Regions from separate parts of the Homo sapiens genome. Here region 1 is linked to region 2. Evidence: promoter capture Hi-C in 16 types of primary human blood cells and fetal thymus (Javierre and others, 2016). All regions are on one chromosome and are shown on one strand. The core of a region is centred on a gene start or on the middle of the fragment in contact, and the rest is flanking DNA. Distances in the headings are between cores, read along the strand shown.

Region 1 (4,746 bases), core at 2,247-4,746, 51 kb before region 2:
TTTTAGCAAAGAACCCTGAGTCATTTTGGCAAGATTTCCCACCCTGCATATCTGACCAGGTTCCTCATTCTTTGCCGTCCCCCAGGGAATGTTTGGTCACCATGGCCTGTCTTCAGCAGGATGACACTGACACTGGCCTTCTAGGTCAGTTTAGCAGAATCCCCCTTACTCCTGATGATTCCTCTTACTTTTTCCATCCTTGGCTATAAATCCACACTTGCCATCACCATATTTGGAGTTGAATCCAATTTCTCTTCCCCACTGGAAAATCCATTGCAGTGGGCCGTCTAGCTATTGGAATGGTCCTGAATAAAGTCTGCCTTACCATGCTTTAACAAGTGTTATTGAATAATTTTTTTTAACACCTCTGAGTCTCTGTCCACCTGGAGAACCACTACAGTAACACTCAGTGAGGTACCTGTGTCATCTCTCAAGCACAGTATATTGTCATGACAGGTAGTCTGAACTCCAAGAGGTTGTTCAAATTAAACATATTTGCATTGCTTTCGTCTTTGTATAGTCCGTAATTGAAACTATCCCTCAAATAACAGGATATGCATAAAAGTTCTCTATCAATCATGAATGTACAAGGACATTCGATATGCTTTATTTTTTATTTTATTTATTTATTTATTGAGACAGAGTCTGGCTCTGTCGCCCAGGCTGGAGTGCAGTGGCGCGACCTCAGTTCACTGCAAGCTCCACCTCCCGGATTCATGCCATTCTCCTCCCTCAGCCTCCCGAGTAGCTGGGACTACAGGCACCCGCCACCAGGCTGGGCTAACTTTTGTATTTTTAGCGGAGATGGGGTTTCACGGTGTTAGCCAGGATGGTCTCCATCTCCTGACCTCGTGATCCGCCTGCCTCAGCAACCCCAAAGTGCTGGGATTATAGGCGTGAGCCACCACACCAGGCTATTTATTTTTATTTTTTATTTTTTGAGACGGAGTCTCACTCTGTCGCCCAGACTGGAGTGCAGTGGCACGATCTCGGCTCACCACAACCTCCACCTCCTGGGTTCAAGCGATTCTCCTGCCTCAGCCTCCTGAGTTGCTGGGATTACAGGTGTGCACCACTGTGCCTGGCTAATTGTTGTATTTTTAGTAGAGATGGGGTTTTGCCATGTTGGCCAGGTTGGTCTTGAACTCCTGATCTCAGATGATCTGCCTGCCTTGGCCTCCAAAGTGCTGGGGTTACAGGCATGAGCTGCCACGCCCAGCCCACACATTATTAAGATTTTAAAAAAAGCAAGCTACAGAACAGCCCTGTCCAATAGACAGAATGCAAGCCACATAGTGACTTCAAATTTCCTAATAGAAATATTTTAAGATATAAAAACAAATAGGTGAAATTAATTTTAAGAATGTATTTTATTTTACTCAGCACACCATGTATTTTATTATCATATATTTTATTATATATTTTATTATATATATACGGTGTACTGAGTAAAATAAAATACATTTTATATATATATATACATATATATATATATATATATATTTTTTTTTTTTTTTTTTTCTGAGGCAAGGTCTCATTCTGTCACCCAGGCTGGAGTGCAATGGCATGATCACAGCTCTCTGCAGCCTTGACCTCCTGGGTTCAGGTGATCTTCCTACCTCAGCCTCCCAAGTAGCTGGGACTATAGGCTCATGCCACCATGCCTGGCTAGTTTTTGTATCTTTTTGTATAGACGGGGTTTCACTATGTTGCCCAAGCTGGTCTTGAATTCCTTAGCTCAAGTGATCCATCCACCTTGGCCTCCCGAAAGGCTGGGATTACCAAAGGTGTGAGCCACCATGCCCAGCCCCAAAATATTCTTTAAACATGTAATCATACAAAATTATATGAGATATTAACATTCTTTTTTTATACTAAGTCTTCAAAACCTGATGTGTATTTTACAACACATCTTAATTCAGACCAGTCACATTTCAAGTATTCAACGGCCACTTATGACTAGTAGCTACAATATTAGACAGTGCAACTATAGACCACGTTTACTCTCCATTTTTTTAGCAACTCCCAAACCAGCTTTATACGTATTGTAATAAACATAGAAAACATTTGGAAGGGTACACAAGAAATGACTAAAAATGATTTTTTTATATAAAATGAGAATGCAGGGAGGGAAGGTGATCAGGGTTTAATTCACGTACATCTCTATTTGAATTTATTATATAAGGATATATCATATTTACTAAAAATGTAAAAGAGAAATGCTTATTCTTTGCAACACAGTCCTTGTATAGAAATCTGTCTTAAGGAAATAATCAAATATGTAAACTAACATTTATGACAAGGATGCCCTTGGCCCAAGACGTGAATAATTTTTTCTAGTGTATCCATGCTATAGACGTTACCTGCCATTACTGTATAAGAAAAAACATAGTGTACCTAGGGCTCAGTACTACCCATGGTTTCAGACATCCATAATTTCAGGCATCCACTGGAGGTCTTGGAGTGTGCTCCCTGTGGATAAGGGGGGACTACTGTATTCAACCCCACTGGAGGCTTGACTCCCTGAAAAGTGAATGGAGAAGAACAAACTGATGTGAAAAATCTTTGTCTTCCAACAAATAAACAGACAGGATCTGAGCCCTGGGGAGATCACTGAGGCTTCTCTTAACCCTTCAGTGGGTGGTATTTTCCATCTGCTCACAGGAATGTTGAGATTTTGGCTGTGGACCTTGTGTTTTGCTTAGCAAAGTTGTTTTGTGTGGATCGCACCTGACATTTTAAATTCTTCCAACAACCATAGGAGGTAAATGAAGAATTCATGCACAGTGCAAGGATAAAACTGCACAGGTTTCAGCTGCCTTGGACACCCTGTGCTTTTCAGCTATTTGTTGAATGGAACTTAAGTGCCCAATTTGTTCTGATTGGAGCAAAACTTTGTGGACTGACAAGGATGGGCGTCCAAGATGTAGGAAGTTAAAAAAAAAATGTTGCCAAACAAGGTGTAGAGCACGATCCTATCTGTGTTTTGAAATCTATGAAATTATGTATCTATGCACCTATATGTAATGTATCTATCTCTGAATGGAGGGAAAGAGCCTGACCATTACCACCCTCTACCCCTGGGAGTGAGAATGAAGTGTACAGGGAGCAGGTGCAAGGAAGAATGCTCACTTCTTACTTTATATATTTCTGTACTGTTAAAATTTTAACAGGCTGTTTTGTAAAAAAAATTTAATAAAAGCTATCAACTGTAACCAGAAGTACTTTCTGACAGTAGATGTTCTCAAACCATCTCACCAAGTGCCCAGAAAGAGTTAACACAGGAGAATTCCAGATGTTTGAAGTGAGGACAAATTCCTGCTTTGAGGGTGGGAGGTGGGCTTAGGGATGAGAGGCAATGACGGGGGAGAGGAGGAAAGAAGCTGAGGGGAGAGCTGGCTGCTGAGTTGTCATTCCAACCAATGGCATGAAAGTTTCAAGCCCAACGCCCATTTGTGGAGACTATTTCAGGAGTTAGGATTTGCATCTGAGTTCATTGCCCCTGTAACCTGTCAAAGAAGAGCTAAGGGAGCTTTCGGGGTTGGCTTCTTGGAGGCTGCTTTCTCCTTTACTTGGAAGGTAAAAATCTCAAGCCCAAGCTGATCAGGCAGTGGTGACTGATTGAGCTGTTAATTTTTTTCTTTTTGGTGTATTGATTTCTTTTTCCAGCTAGGGCTGTAACATGCTTATGGGATAAGGTTTTACTTTTACTAACAATGATATTTACATGGAACTTCTAACAAGATGGAGTGGTTCTTCCTGGTCCTCTGCAGATGACAAGAAGCATTAGGTAGATTTTCTTGGATAGGCTCGCATGGAAAGGAAGGAGAACCTATGCTTTGACTGATGAACAATTTTCATCTTATTCCTTCTTGGTTTCACATAGAGCATGGTTAAGCTTTGACAGGAATTGCAGATGCGTGTAGCAAATCCTACTTAAGTAGAATGGGTTCTTGCTTTATTTTCCATCTCAGTAAAAACTCTTAAAACTCCCCCATTCATAGTAAAGCTACTTTACAACAGAAAGTAGAAAAAAAAATAAAGAGAGAGTTTGGAAAGACACTTTTAGTGAAGTCACCCAATGTTTAGGTCCAAATGTAGCTCCTCTGTCCCCCAGCGCTATGTTATCAACATCACAGGGAACTTCTTTCCCCTCGCAGGCTTCGCTAGTGATGGACCCATACATGATTCAGATGAGCAGCAAAGGCAACCTCCCCTCAATTCTGGACGTGCATGTCAACGTTGGTGGGAGAAGCTCTGTGCCGGGAAAAATGAAAGGCAGAAAGGCCAGGTGGTCTGTGAGGCCCTCAGACATGGCCAAGAAAACTTTCAACCCCATCCGAGCCATTGTGGACAACATGAAGGTGAAACCAAATCCAAACAAAACCATGATTTCCCTGTCCATTGGTGAGTTGGGGACACTACTGAGGGGCTGTCATTGTCCTCCTCTACTCTCATGTTCACAGGCTGGTTGGAGAAGATGGCAGTTGGGGGTGAGTCTGAGTACTGAACATGGGAGAATAACCTCTTGGCTCCTTTTGTGTTTTCCTCCCATAAAAAGGGGACCCTACTGTGTTTGGAAACCTGCCTACAGACCCTGAAGTTACCCAGGCAATGAAAGATGCCCTGGACTCGGGCAAATATAATGGCTATGCCCCATCCATCGGTAAGCTCCTCCTGAGACTCCATACCTGGTGACTGCCAAATCTTTAGTGCTCTTATAACAGGACTAAATGTCTAGCAATC
Region 2 (4,180 bases), core at 959-3,458:
AGAGAATGGGGTTGGATTGGGGAAACTGGCATCCTCACAAGCAGCCTGAAGACCTGGAAAACCTCTGAAGCTAGGCACCTGGGTAAAGGGTGTCCATATAACAAACTCTTCCTAGACAGTGTCAGGAGGATTGGACCTGGGTCCCGCCAGGGCTGTGTCACTAGTGCCAAGGACAGTGCATGGCACATAGTAGGTGCTCAAGGAACATCTTTCAACAAATGACAAGTGAACATATATTTGTACAGTGTTTTTTTTTTTACTATATGAGACCCAGAAAGGAAGATTGAGCAAGATATTATAAACCAAAAATAAAATTCTAAGGCCCCCCAACCATCTGAAAGGACTTCCTCCTCAGCCAGGACTCTTTTTTTTTTTTTTTTTTTTGAAATGAAGTCTTGCTCTGTTGTCCAGGCTGGAGTGCAGTGGCACGATCTCAGCTCACTGCAACCTCGACTCCTCAGGTTCAAGCGCTTCTCCTGCCTCAGCCTCCCGAGTGACCTGGCTAATTTTTTGTATTTTTAGTACAGACATGGTTTTGCCATGTTGGCCAGGCAGGTCTCGAACTCCTGACCTCAAGTGACCTCAGTCTCCTAATAGTGCTGTGATTACACCCATGAGCCACTGTGCCCAGCCAGGGGTCTTTTTAAAATTTAACCTGAGAGACTGTTTCAGGCCATGACAAGAAGTGGGGATCTAACATGCCTCATCATACCTCTCCAGCATTAACACCAACACAGACCTTAAGTCTGATAAGAAACATTTTACAACCTATTCTCTCTGAAGCCTGCTATCTGAAGGCTTCCTCTCAGTTGCAGTGAGCCGAGATCGCACCACTGCACTCCAGCCTGGGCGACAGACCCGTACTTTTTTCTTTTCTTTTTTCTTTTTTGAGATGGAGTTTTGCTCTTGTTGCCCAGGCTAGAGTGCAATGGCAGGATCTCGGCTCACTGCAGCCTCCCGGTTTCAAGCGATTCTCCTGCCTCAGCCTCCTGAGTAGCTGGGATTACAGGTGCCTGCCACCATGCCCAGCTAATTTTTTTGGTATTTTTAGTACAGACAGGGTTTCGCCATGTTGGCCGGGCTGGTCTTGAACTCCTGGCCTCAGGTGATCCACCTGCCTCAGCTTCCCAAAGTGCTGGGATTACAGGCGCGAGCCATCGCGCCTGGCTAGATGTATTTCTTAAATGTATTTGATTGAAGTCTCATGTCTCCCTAAAGTGTATAAAACCAAGCTGCACCCCGACCACCTTAGACACATGTTCTCAGGACCTCCTGAGGGCTGTGTCACCGGCCATGGTCACTCATATTTGGCTCAGAATAAATCTCTTCAAATATGTCACAGAGTCTGACTCTTTTCATCGACAATATTACATTTATTTTACACATAGAAAAGTATTTCAATTCCAATTAGAAGTTTCATACTTGTCCAAGGCCATGCAAGATAGACGTATCTTCTACCATAGCTGATATGTTGGCACCATAACTTAATCATATTGCACATGTGCGTGGTGTTCCACATTTTTAAAGCCCTTTTAGCTGCAATTATGATACTGATCGGTTAGATATTTTAGACAGTGATGAGACATTTCTTCATTTTTCAGAATAAATAAACTAAACTTTAATTGACTGGCTCATCCGGTATAAATAGCCTTTTCTGGATCAGAACCCAGGTTTTGGGGATCCCAGGGCTGAGAATTTTCAATGATCACACTGTCCCTCTCCTGAGCTAGAGAAAACCTACAGCTCCTTGCACCTCCTGTCTTCCACTCCCCAGCAGAAAACAGAGGAGAAGCTGCAGGAAGTACAGAAATTTGAGCTCCAAAGCCAGGATCTGAACGAGTCAGTTGGCACCAGGGGACCATCTACAAAATATACATCAGAACAGCCTGATCTGCTCTCTGGGCTCTTTTGGACCCATTTAGGGATAGAGCTAGTGGGGCTTGGGGGCTGCTGGTAAGCAGCTTGTGTTTTATTTTACCCAGAAAATTCCCCAGGTGATCTGATTTATCCCCTCTGCGCAAACCGCCTTCGCCACTGTAATCTCTAGCTTAGCTGCCAGAGGTTATCTGATACTCTTGCTCCAGCAGCTCTGGGTAATGGCTCTGCATTGGAGTCGTACACAGAAATTCTCTTCTTACCTTGTGGCTTGGGCTTCCCTGCTGCTTTTGAGAGGCTCACTGCTAGCCGGGCCATGCGCTTTTCTCCTCTGACTCACCAACTCCCCTCTTGGCTTCCTCCTCCTACTTGCTTTTGCATAACCGTCCCTACTCAGAGCACATTTCACTGTCCCTCCCTTCTGCCAAAAACAAAAAAGGACCCACCTTGCAAGACGGGCTTGAGAAAGCACTCGCTCCCAGGAAGCTGTGAAAGTAACAGCTTTAACACTGCTGAGACTCAAGGGGTGGGGAGACTGCTTGAGGTGGGCTGGGAGAAGCAAATGAGGAAGCATTTTCCCCCAGACTGGAGGCATCCTGGCATGTTGACTACTGAAAGGCAACTGTGAAGGTCAACTCCCTATGGGCAGAGTGGGGAGGTGGGGAAAAAGAGAAAGAGAGAGAGAGAGACCCAGGGAGCTAGTAGATGAGGCTGATAGGGAAATTTCATGACACTTACAAGCCGAAAGGCTACAAAATCTCAAACCTGATTTTTAGACCTTGTTCTTATCTCCAAGGAGAAAATGTGAAAGTTATTTCTTGCATTACACCTGCCTGCTCACTCCACCCTGGGTCTAGGGAGGTAACATTTCTCAGCCTCTGTGTTGTATTCAATATCTTCACCCTTGCTACAAGAGGTAATAAATATTTTCTGGGAGGACATAGATGTACTGGCTTGGTGGTACAGGAGAAAAAAAAGTCCCCTTTAAGAAAAAAAGAAACAAATTATCATTAAAGATTACAACCTCTCCCTTGCTGTGTGCCCTTGGGCAAATCACTTACCTACTCCGTGCTACTTTACACGGTTGTCATGAGTCTGAAACAATGGATGCCCGTGAATAAACGTAAATTGTGGTGGAGAATGGAAGCCTCAGACTTTCAAGTCCAAGATCTTGCCGGGCAAGTCATACCACCTCTTTGAGCCCTAGAATATCATCGGTGTTAAATAAGGGTAACAATATCTATTTTACAGTATTGTTGTGAATGTTAGGATTAATGCGTATGAAGCTCCTAACACAATAATATGACAATATAAGAGTTAAAAAGTGGTTGAATAATAATACCTTCCCACCGCCACCCACCCCCGCAACTCAGCTGCCACTTCCTTTTCCAGACCTTGGAAGAGAGAGAGAGCAGGCAGGGAGTTGTGTGAGCTTTGGGATGATCTTTGCCGATTTCCATCAGCTAAGTCCGCTAAGCACAAATGACAAGAACCTGTGGTGCTTGCCTTGACTTGATTTCAATTGTGTGGCTCTTCCTCCCTTCCTGTTTCTCTCTGGCAGAGAGAAGAGAAATTTCTCTTCCTCCAGTGAAGGACTTTGGGCAGAGGTGTAACTGGAAGCACTAGAACTGGGCAGTCGGTAGTTTTGCTTTTATGCACAAAGAGATGATTCAGGTGCTGGCACGACACAGCGAGATGGCACAAGGCTTCATCATGCTACTCAGAATAGTATGTAATAAATGAACTGTTTATTTCTGTAATTTTCCCATTTAATATTTTCAAATCGTGGTTGATGATGAGTAGTTAAAACTGGGAAACAAAACCGTGGATAAAGAGGGGACTCCTGTAGTTTTATTCCAGCCCTTTCTAACATTCTTTTCGTGTTTTTCCAGCGCCTTCCCAAATATAGTGAGGTCACTCAAATACACCATAACCCCAAGTAATTCAGATCACCTGCCATCTTTCCCGTGCTAGGAATTCATGCTGGCAGAATGCCAAGCAGCTGAAGAAAGGCATCCTCTGGTCACTAGTATACGGTGGTGACCAGCATGTTCAGATACTGGACTTCCAAGGGTCTACCACATTCCACAGCACTGGGAAGAAATTTGAATGCTGGTGTCTGATATCCAGGCCTTCTTGTGGAAGTCCTGCAGCCCACGTCTCTAAGGCAGCACTGTCCAATAACAGTCTCTGTGATGATGGAAATGTTCCATATCTGCACTATACAGTAGCCACTGTCCACCTGAAACGTGCTAGTGCAACCATATTGGATCGTGCAGTCAAGTAAGAGATCTAATCTTTTTCT

The links. The method cuts DNA at HindIII sites, captures the fragments that hold promoters and counts their contacts. A CHiCAGO score of 5 or more calls a contact.
Region 1: the fragment with the promoter of TAT here is called in contact with the fragment with the promoter of CHST4 in region 2 in 1 of 17 cell types (monocytes); the score reaches 6.9 in monocytes.

The regions. Positions count from the first base shown.
Region 1 is chr16:71,575,842-71,580,587 of GRCh38, reverse strand. TAT (tyrosine aminotransferase) reads left to right here and starts at 3,496. Exons shown (of 12, transcript NM_000353.3): 1 at 3,496-3,579; 2 at 4,161-4,407; 3 at 4,562-4,666. The coding sequence starts at 4,173. The HindIII fragment of the contact is 5,727 bases long and covers 1-3,900 here.
Region 2 is chr16:71,524,454-71,528,633 of GRCh38, reverse strand. It overlaps CHST4 (carbohydrate sulfotransferase 4), which reads right to left and starts at 2,208. Exons shown (of 2, transcript NM_001166395.2): 1 at 2,139-2,208. RefSeq lists an enhancer at 1,965-2,575. The HindIII fragment of the contact is 27,165 bases long and covers 1-4,180 here.